Linked DNA regions of Homo sapiens: region 2 is linked to region 1. Evidence: promoter capture Hi-C in human tissues and cell types (Jung and others, 2019). All regions are on one chromosome and are shown on one strand. Each heading gives the region's core, a stretch centred on a gene start or on the middle of the fragment in contact. The rest is flanking DNA. Distances are from core to core; before and after follow the strand shown.

Evidence for each region. The method cuts DNA at HindIII sites, captures the fragments that hold promoters and counts their contacts. A contact is called where the count stands out against the background at its distance.
Region 2: a fragment that was not itself captured here is called in contact with the fragment with the promoter of COLCA1 in region 1 in 1 of the 25 tissues and cell types used here (mesendoderm cells).

What each region holds. Positions count from the first base shown.
Region 1 is chr11:111,303,186-111,307,183 of GRCh38, forward strand. COLCA1 (colorectal cancer associated 1) reads right to left here and starts at 1,863. Exons shown (of 2, transcript NR_169237.1): 1 at 1,643-1,863. It overlaps POU2AF3 (POU class 2 homeobox associating factor 3), which reads left to right. Exons shown (of 5, transcript NM_001271458.2): 3 at 1,743-1,797; 4 at 3,209-3,438. The HindIII fragment of the contact is 15,057 bases long and covers 1-3,998 here.
Region 2 is chr11:110,271,105-110,275,102 of GRCh38, forward strand. It overlaps RDX (radixin), which reads right to left. Exons shown (of 14, transcript NM_002906.4): 3 at 1,432-1,515. Among named protein-coding and RNA genes, the nearest start is that of RDX, 24 kb to the right of the region's middle. The HindIII fragment of the contact is 6,004 bases long and covers 1-3,998 here.

The DNA of each region.
Region 1 (3,998 bases), core at 613-3,112:
GGAACACTCGATTTTAAAAAACTTATTTCAGCCAGATCAATTTGCAAACATGCGCATGCACGCACACACACAGACACACACACACTTGCCTTTGGGGTAAAAGGAAACTTGAGTTAGTCGTTATCAAAAGATATCATTTACCTTTCTTTTTTTAAATCATTAATTTTTTAAACAGCCTTGATGTGTTTTTATAAATTGTAGACTGTGAATTTTTGTGCTGTTTGAAATCTAAGAGAGAGTTGCCTTTCTTTGTATTCTTGGAGCAAAGTAGAAAGTGAACCCATGACTAGAAAGATAATATCAAGTAGGATATTGTAAACACACCTCAGGGAGATAACATGGGGTGGAGGCAGACAAACAGGCCAATCCGGGGGAGGAATGGAGTTAAGGAAAGCTCTACAATGAGGCAGATTTTTTAATACCCACTCCTTCCAAGTCCTTCAGCTCAAGCTGCAGCCAAATATTTGCATAAAGAGCTGGTAAAGGATTCCAGCTTCCTGGTTCATGACATTACAGCATGGATCGTTTTCAAAATTAATACTGCCTCCTGTTTCAGCAGTGGCTGCCTGCACAGCTCTCCCTGTGGCTCAGAGTATGGGAGTGAGTATGCCCTGTAACCCAAAAGAGGTGTGGTGAGCTCGGCTTCCCAGCACAGAATCACAGAGCAATACGGGTACCTTTAAACTTTAAAGCCACACCTGAAATTTAAAAAAAAAAAAAAAATCCTAAATTACTCAGTATAATTATTAATTCAACTGAAAAATGCAGGCTGCTTTACTTTGAATAGTTAAAAAGAGCAGTCTCATAAACTTTTAAGTATTTAAATACAGTAGTTTAAATAAAAGCAACTTTTATAGATAGTAGTACAAAACATACAAAGTACTGGAATAATTCCCGACCATTAACTAGAATGAAAGTAGGTTCCAACTCACCAACCACAGCTTTAAGAAAATATTTTCTATTTTAATATTTCATGTATACTAAGAACATGTGAATATTTTTAGCTACTCAGAATTAACAAAATTAAGAATTGTGTTCTTTGGGGAAACGACTCCCTAAGGCTAAGTAGCCAGATGGTATATGAAATTTTTGAGAAAAATAATTGACTAAGCCATAGATAGTTGAGATTAAATAAATGTTAGTCCTTAATAATTTTAAATCGAATAGTTTAATAGGAAGCCTTTTGCTGCATTTTCTCAAACTGTTACATTTTTACCACATAAAATTATTTACATTAATTTTTTACTAAAAATTAATCACTTTTAAAATTTAAGTAGAAGAATCTGATATTAGGAAAAAAACTCCCCAAGCAAGCAAACATAAATATTGGATCTAGATAAAACATAATATTGGTTGTATTTAAGAAGTCTGTTTTATGATTCGATTTCAGGTTTTCATTGTTCCAATGCAATTTTCCAGATTGAATCTTAAAAGGATTATAAACGTCAAAAGGCATTTTAAATTCTACACGGACTTAATACACCTACCGCAATTCTATGCACCTGTCTTTCAAATTCTATAAAATATTTGTTGACACTTTCCCTTTCACTTGTTTTTTACAATATATTTTGTACAAAAATTTGTCAAACATTGAAAAAAAAAAAGAAAGCAACTTTTTCTGAGAAGGAAGAATCTGGCTTACCTTATAGCAGAAAGAAACATAGTCCTCATCAAAATGTCTTAGCTTTCCCTTCAGAGCATTTCTTTCAGCCTGCTTCACGGTGATATTCTTGCTTTGACAGCGGTCCGGAGGCAGCAGTGTCCACCTTTCAGACCCAGTTGCACCATCTTCTGCAGGTCAGTACAGCCAGCATTAACAGTTCCCTCAAACACTCTTTCAAAAGTCCATCTCAAAAGTCTTTCAGTCTTGATTCAGGGGTTAAGATAGGCACCACCATTTAATTGGAATCCAACCAATCAGAAGGTGAAAAAGGCATAGTCACTCCACATGCAAGCCCAGCAAGAAAACAAGCATAAATGTTGTCTTCATTTCTGAATTCTCTACTCTCTGCTATATTGTCTCAAGAGTTTGTTCTTCACATTTATTCCAGTTCCTCATCGCCAAGTAACTAAACTGAACTACAAAATCAGAATTGTTCTCAGGAACTTATCTTTTTTTAGTGCACTGTTAGATGGAATACAGAACATCCCAAGACACTCAAATAATGCCTTTGCTCTGTTCCTTTAGTTTCCAGCCGACAGGGGCTTCCCTCCCCTTCTCTGTTCCCAGAAAGCAGTTCAAACAAGTGTAGGTTTTCTCAGCCCAATAAGAATAACTCGATTACATAAACACTCCTACCTCTGCTACTCAACAGCTAAGAGTTTAAGGAGGTCGTATATAAGGAAACCTCTGCCTATGGCCTCTCCCCACTAAATGTGTCACCGTAGCTTCACCTTAAAGGAACTTGAGACCTCAAGAAGAACACAGTGTCCTTTAGTCCCTTTGATGAGCACACTCTAATCCTCTCTTCTTCCAGCATTTACAGATAATTATCACAAATTGGGCCTATTAATAATAAAATGGAAAAGGAGTAATGTTTACTGATTATCTTTGTTTGATGTTTAACAACTTACTTTGATCACATCATGATGTTAACATGTTCACTGAGAAAACATTTTTGCTTTTTGTACTTCCGAGCCAATAGTGTTAATTGGTACTCTATGTTCCTGGTTTCCATGATTATCATTTGCATTCTCATTTAAATCACTTCTCAAAATTCTCTCCTCCAAACTTAAGTTACTGAGTAAGAGTGAAAAGTTCAAAAAAGCAATCACCATAAGTCAAAAGAATTATTTCCCGTAGCATCAGAAGTTTTCTCAAAGCCTCAACAACTTTGTCAGTTACTTCTGAGAGGTTTACGTGAACTGCCGGTAGGGGCTGGATGTCCATGGTTTTACAGCCCAAGAAAGGGGAAGTTTGAGCCATTATTTGACTGTGACACTTGGACACAAATTGGGTCACCATCCTTTTATTTTTGCCCTAACCAGTTTTACAGCCAGTTTCCACATTATTAACCATGTTCATTTCCCTGGAGCTTGAATTAGCTAGGACAACTAAAGAGTCAAAATTGCATTCCCGTTTACTTTTCTGGATTTGTTAAGCCCCCTTTCCCCCTAGACATAGTAAATATTCAGAGTATAGATCTCCATTCAAATCTGTGTTTTGCAATTTTTATGCAAAAACCTGCCTTTTTCCTTTCTCCTCTAGGACTGTATTTTGAGCCTGAACCAATTTCTTCCACGCCCAATTATTTGCAACGGGGAGAATTTTCCAGTTGTGTTTCATGTGAAGAAAACTCAAGCTGCCTCGACCAGATCTTTGATTCCTACCTTCAGACAGAGATGCACCCGGAGCCTTTGCTCAATTCCACACAAAGTGCTCCACACCATTTCCCAGACAGCTTCCAGGCCACCCCTTTCTGCTTTAACCAGAGCCTGGTAATTTTTCTCAGTTCTTTATATACCTGATTGTGTCTAACTATGGGGTAATAGTGCTTTGTGAGTTTGCACCATCCCGTGGGAAATCATACAAAAACTATCAGCAAGGAAATCATCCAAGGAAACAAGCAGAGAAGAATTTAAAAGTCAATGTATAGAAGTAGCCACACACTGCAGGGCATAAACCTTTGGATACACACGTAATTTAGATTTCCCAAGATTTAGATTTTTCGGCCACCAAGTAAGTTGGTGGGTAGCAATAAAAAGAGGTTCCTGGCAATATTCATTTAATGTTTTTTAAACTGTAAAGTCAAGAGACCTACTAATTGGAAGTCAGTGGTTTAAACAATGGCTCTTGGATTTTTTGATGGAATTTTGAGTTCTTGGAAATGGAATTAAGGCTGTGTATATATGGTAACAAACTTCATTTCATTAGGGGGAGGTTTTGCTTTGTTTTGTCATTGAACTGGCTCTACTAACTGATAGTTTGAGTCTGCTATAAGCACAATAACTCATTTGGGTCTGAGATGGTTAGTAAAAATGAAGCCGTAATCTTTGAA
Region 2 (3,998 bases), core at 456-2,955, 1.0 Mb before region 1:
ACACAAAAAGCTTTTCATGATCCAAAAAGGCCTTATCAGGACTTTTAAATTTATGAATTACCAAATCAGGAGATTAAGTATATTACTTGTCAGGAGAATAAACAACTTTAGAGAATTTAGAATTTTTATTTCATCAGATTTGAATCTGTATTTGACAGAATGACAACTAACAAAACCAAAGTATCTAGTGTTACTTACTGCTGAAATGCTAGAAACTCTTTCCTTCTTTAAGATCAAGTTATTCTGACTACAGGCTATTGCTCTCCTGCTCCTAAGAAAAAGTGTACGTGAAGTTTATATAAAAGTTATCCTCCTCTAAGTTTCATGCCACACATGATATATACCACCTTCCTCTGTCTTTGCAACAGTTTCTTCATGTTCTTACTTAATCCCTGGGGCCAATCCCTTACCTCGTTTTCTCAGCAAAACTTGCTTACATTGCAATACAACATTATCTGGGAAGCTTAAATTTTAAAATACTGATAATTTAGAGTAGGCCCAGACAATTAAATCAGCATCTCTGGAAGGGGTTTCCAAGCACTGTCTCCTTTCCCTTTTTTTAAAGCTCCACAGGTGACTAATACGCACTCAAGACTGAGAAGAAAGATAAGATCAGTAGTCCCAGTTCCTTAACATACCGGATACCTGACCTCCATATCCCAACCTTTGCCTCATACATTATGAACCTATGACACCAAATTGTTGTTAGGGATCTCTGTATAGCCTATACAGGTTGAGCATCCCTAATCCAAAAATCCAAAATCCTAAATGCTGCAAAATCTGAAACCTCTTCAGTACCAACATGACTCTGCAAATGGAAAGTTCCACACCTAACCTAACGTGATGGGTCGCAGTCAAAACTCAGTATGCATAAAATTATTTAAAGGATTTTATAAAATTACCTTCAGCCTATGTGTATAAGTTGTACACAAAACATAAATGAATTTTGTGTTTAGACTTGGGTCCCATCCCCAAGATATCTCATTATACATATGCAAATATTCCAAAATCTAAAAACATCCAAAATCTTCTGGTCCCAAGCATTTTGGATAAGAGATGCTCTCAACCTGTAATTCCCTATGCCTTTCACTCCTGCTGTTCCTTCTGCCCAGGATTCCTACTCATTTCACTCAACAACTTTGTGGATTATCCTTGAATCCCTTTTAGTCACCATTACAATGATTCTCATAAATGTTAAATAAATACCTGCTGAAAATTATTTTCAAGAAGTCCTCTCCCACAAATGTAGGAATGTGAAAGAATAAAGAATATCCCTACTGCTGTAGTAGGGATATCTGAATAGCTACTATGAAAAATTCCAAGTGGTACACTGTTGGATTATCAGCAAAAGTACAGAAAAACAGAGAAAGAGGTATGCAACAACATTCACACTATGGTGTCAAAAGTTGCATATTTCATGCAGTGTAATACCTGGTCAAAAAGTTGTTTGCCAGTTGTATTGGGCTGAATGGCAAATTCCAGCTCAGCATCCATTGTAGTTACTCTTACGTTGATCTGTAATAAAAATAAAAGGAATAATAAGTAGAAGAGAAGTTATTAGGCGTGAGAAAACTTTTATGATTTTCTTTATTAAAGTGATAAAGTTTTATTTTAATCACAAGAAATCTTAAATCTATTTGAAAAACAAAGAGCTTATAAAGTCCTCATTTAGGAACATCTATTGAATACTTAACATATACTGGGCACTAAGCTATGGGCTTTCCATACTCTCATTTAGCCCTTGCTATAATACTAGGAGATACTACCTTTATTTCTACAGAAACGCAAAGAGTTTCCATTATTCACCTAAGGACACGTGGATATTAAAAGGCAGAGCAAGAGCTGGACATGGTGCCTCACATCTTTAGTCCCAGCACTTTGGAAGGCCAAGGTGGGAGGATCTCTTGAGGTCAGGAGTTTGAGACCAGCCTGGGGAACACAGCAAGACTATGAAAAATTTAAAAATTAGTTGGGTGTGGTGGCATGTGCCTGTTATTTCCAGGAAGCTGAGATGGGAGGATCACTTGAGCCTAGGAGTTTGAGGGCTGCCGTGAGCTATGATTGTACTACTGAACTTCAGCCTGCACAACAGAGCAAGACCCTGCCTCCAAAAACAAAGCAAAACAAAAAAGGCAAAGGAGGTATTTAAATTGAGGTCTAACTCCAAATTCTTTGAATGTGATTCACTATCCCATATTTCTTTCAACATGAAAATCAGATTTCATTTTATTCATACTGTAAATACATTATTCGCTTTAGGAAAGCATTTATCTACAGTGCTTTATTTGCTAGATTCTATTTTTTGTTGTTTTTAGAGACAGGGTCTCACTATGTTGTGCTCAGGCTGGAGAGCACTGGCCATTCATGCGTGCAATCATGGCACACTGCAACCTTGATCTCCTGGACGCAAACCTATACTCCCACCTCAATCTACCAAGTAGCTAGGAGCACAGGCGTGTGCCGCCAGGCCTAGCTCCAAACTCTATTTTAAATAATAATTTTATTGTGTAAATACCTAATATCTCAAAAACTTAACACGCCTTACCAAAATAATTTTACCACAGAATAGCATCTTCACCTAGAATTCTTCACATGATCCAAATATATCTTTTTAGCTTTTTAAATTATTTTATCTTTTATTAACTTATTTCTCCTTTAATTTTCCCACACTTCATTTGCTGTTTCTGTATCGATTTTCTAACAATCTTTACTTTTCCCTTAACCAGTATAAACCTGTAGCGATTCCTACTAACACTGTTTCTGTAACAACTGTATTTAAAATTTTATATTAATACGTATTACTGCATTTGTTTTTATGTATCTTTTTCCATCAGCCTGTAGGTTTACTGAGGACACAGCTTGTGCCATTTTATCTAACTTTAACTCACACTATAAAAACTCTAAATCAGACTTCTTATTTCCCCATATGTCTAACAATCACAACCTCAGCACATTATAGCTTTCACCTGGAATAACTTCTGTAATCAGATCTTACAGATTCATCCTTCTTTAAAATAATCTTATTTTTTTCTTTTCTAAAACTGTATCTTATTAAGAAATGATATATACAAAACATCTATCATATATAAACAATGAAGAATAATAAAACGAAACCCATAAATCTACCATCCAACTGAATAACAAGAAATGGTAAATAATGTTGCATATACCACTGTTATTTGTTCTTTGTAAATACCAACAGGTAATCACTAACCTAAATTTTGTTATTATCTTGCTTTTAAAAAAATGGTTCTAACGTAAATATATGTATCTGTTTGTAAAATAGCTTCATTTTTCTTGATTTTTAGCTGTATTATAACTGCACGATATTTGTTGATCAAGTTTTCTTTCTTGATGTGGGCAATGCTTACATGGGTATATTCACTTTACGAAAATTCATCAACTACACACTTTTTTTTCCCTGTTGCCTAGGTTGGAGCACAGTGGCAGAATCCCAGCTCACCGCAGCCTCAACCTCCCGGGCTCAAGCGATCCTACCGCCTCAGCCTCTTGAGTGGCTGGGACTACTGTTACTACACACTTCTCATATATTCTGTTTGGTATGTATATTCTACTTCAATAAATTCTTTAAAATTGCACTATACTAGTTTAATTTTTCACCATATGTTTCTAAGATTCATTGATGTTTTTGTAACTGAACTTTCACTGCTATGCAACATTCTGCATGTGGCCAAACAAACATTTACTCACCCATTTTCCTGTCAATGAACACTGTTTCCAATTTTTTGGCTATTAAGAACAATACTGCTATGAACATTCTCGTACATGTCTCCGAGTGTCAGAATTTCTCCAGAATATACTCAGAATTCTTGAGTAATGAAGTGTGCACACCTTCTACTTTTACCACATAATGCTGAATTGTACAATGTAACTGTGTCAATGTATACTCCTGACAGCATTGTATAAGAATTCTTGCTTTTCTGTATTTCCAGGAACAGTGGGCATTATCAGATTTATTAATATCTGACAATTCAGTT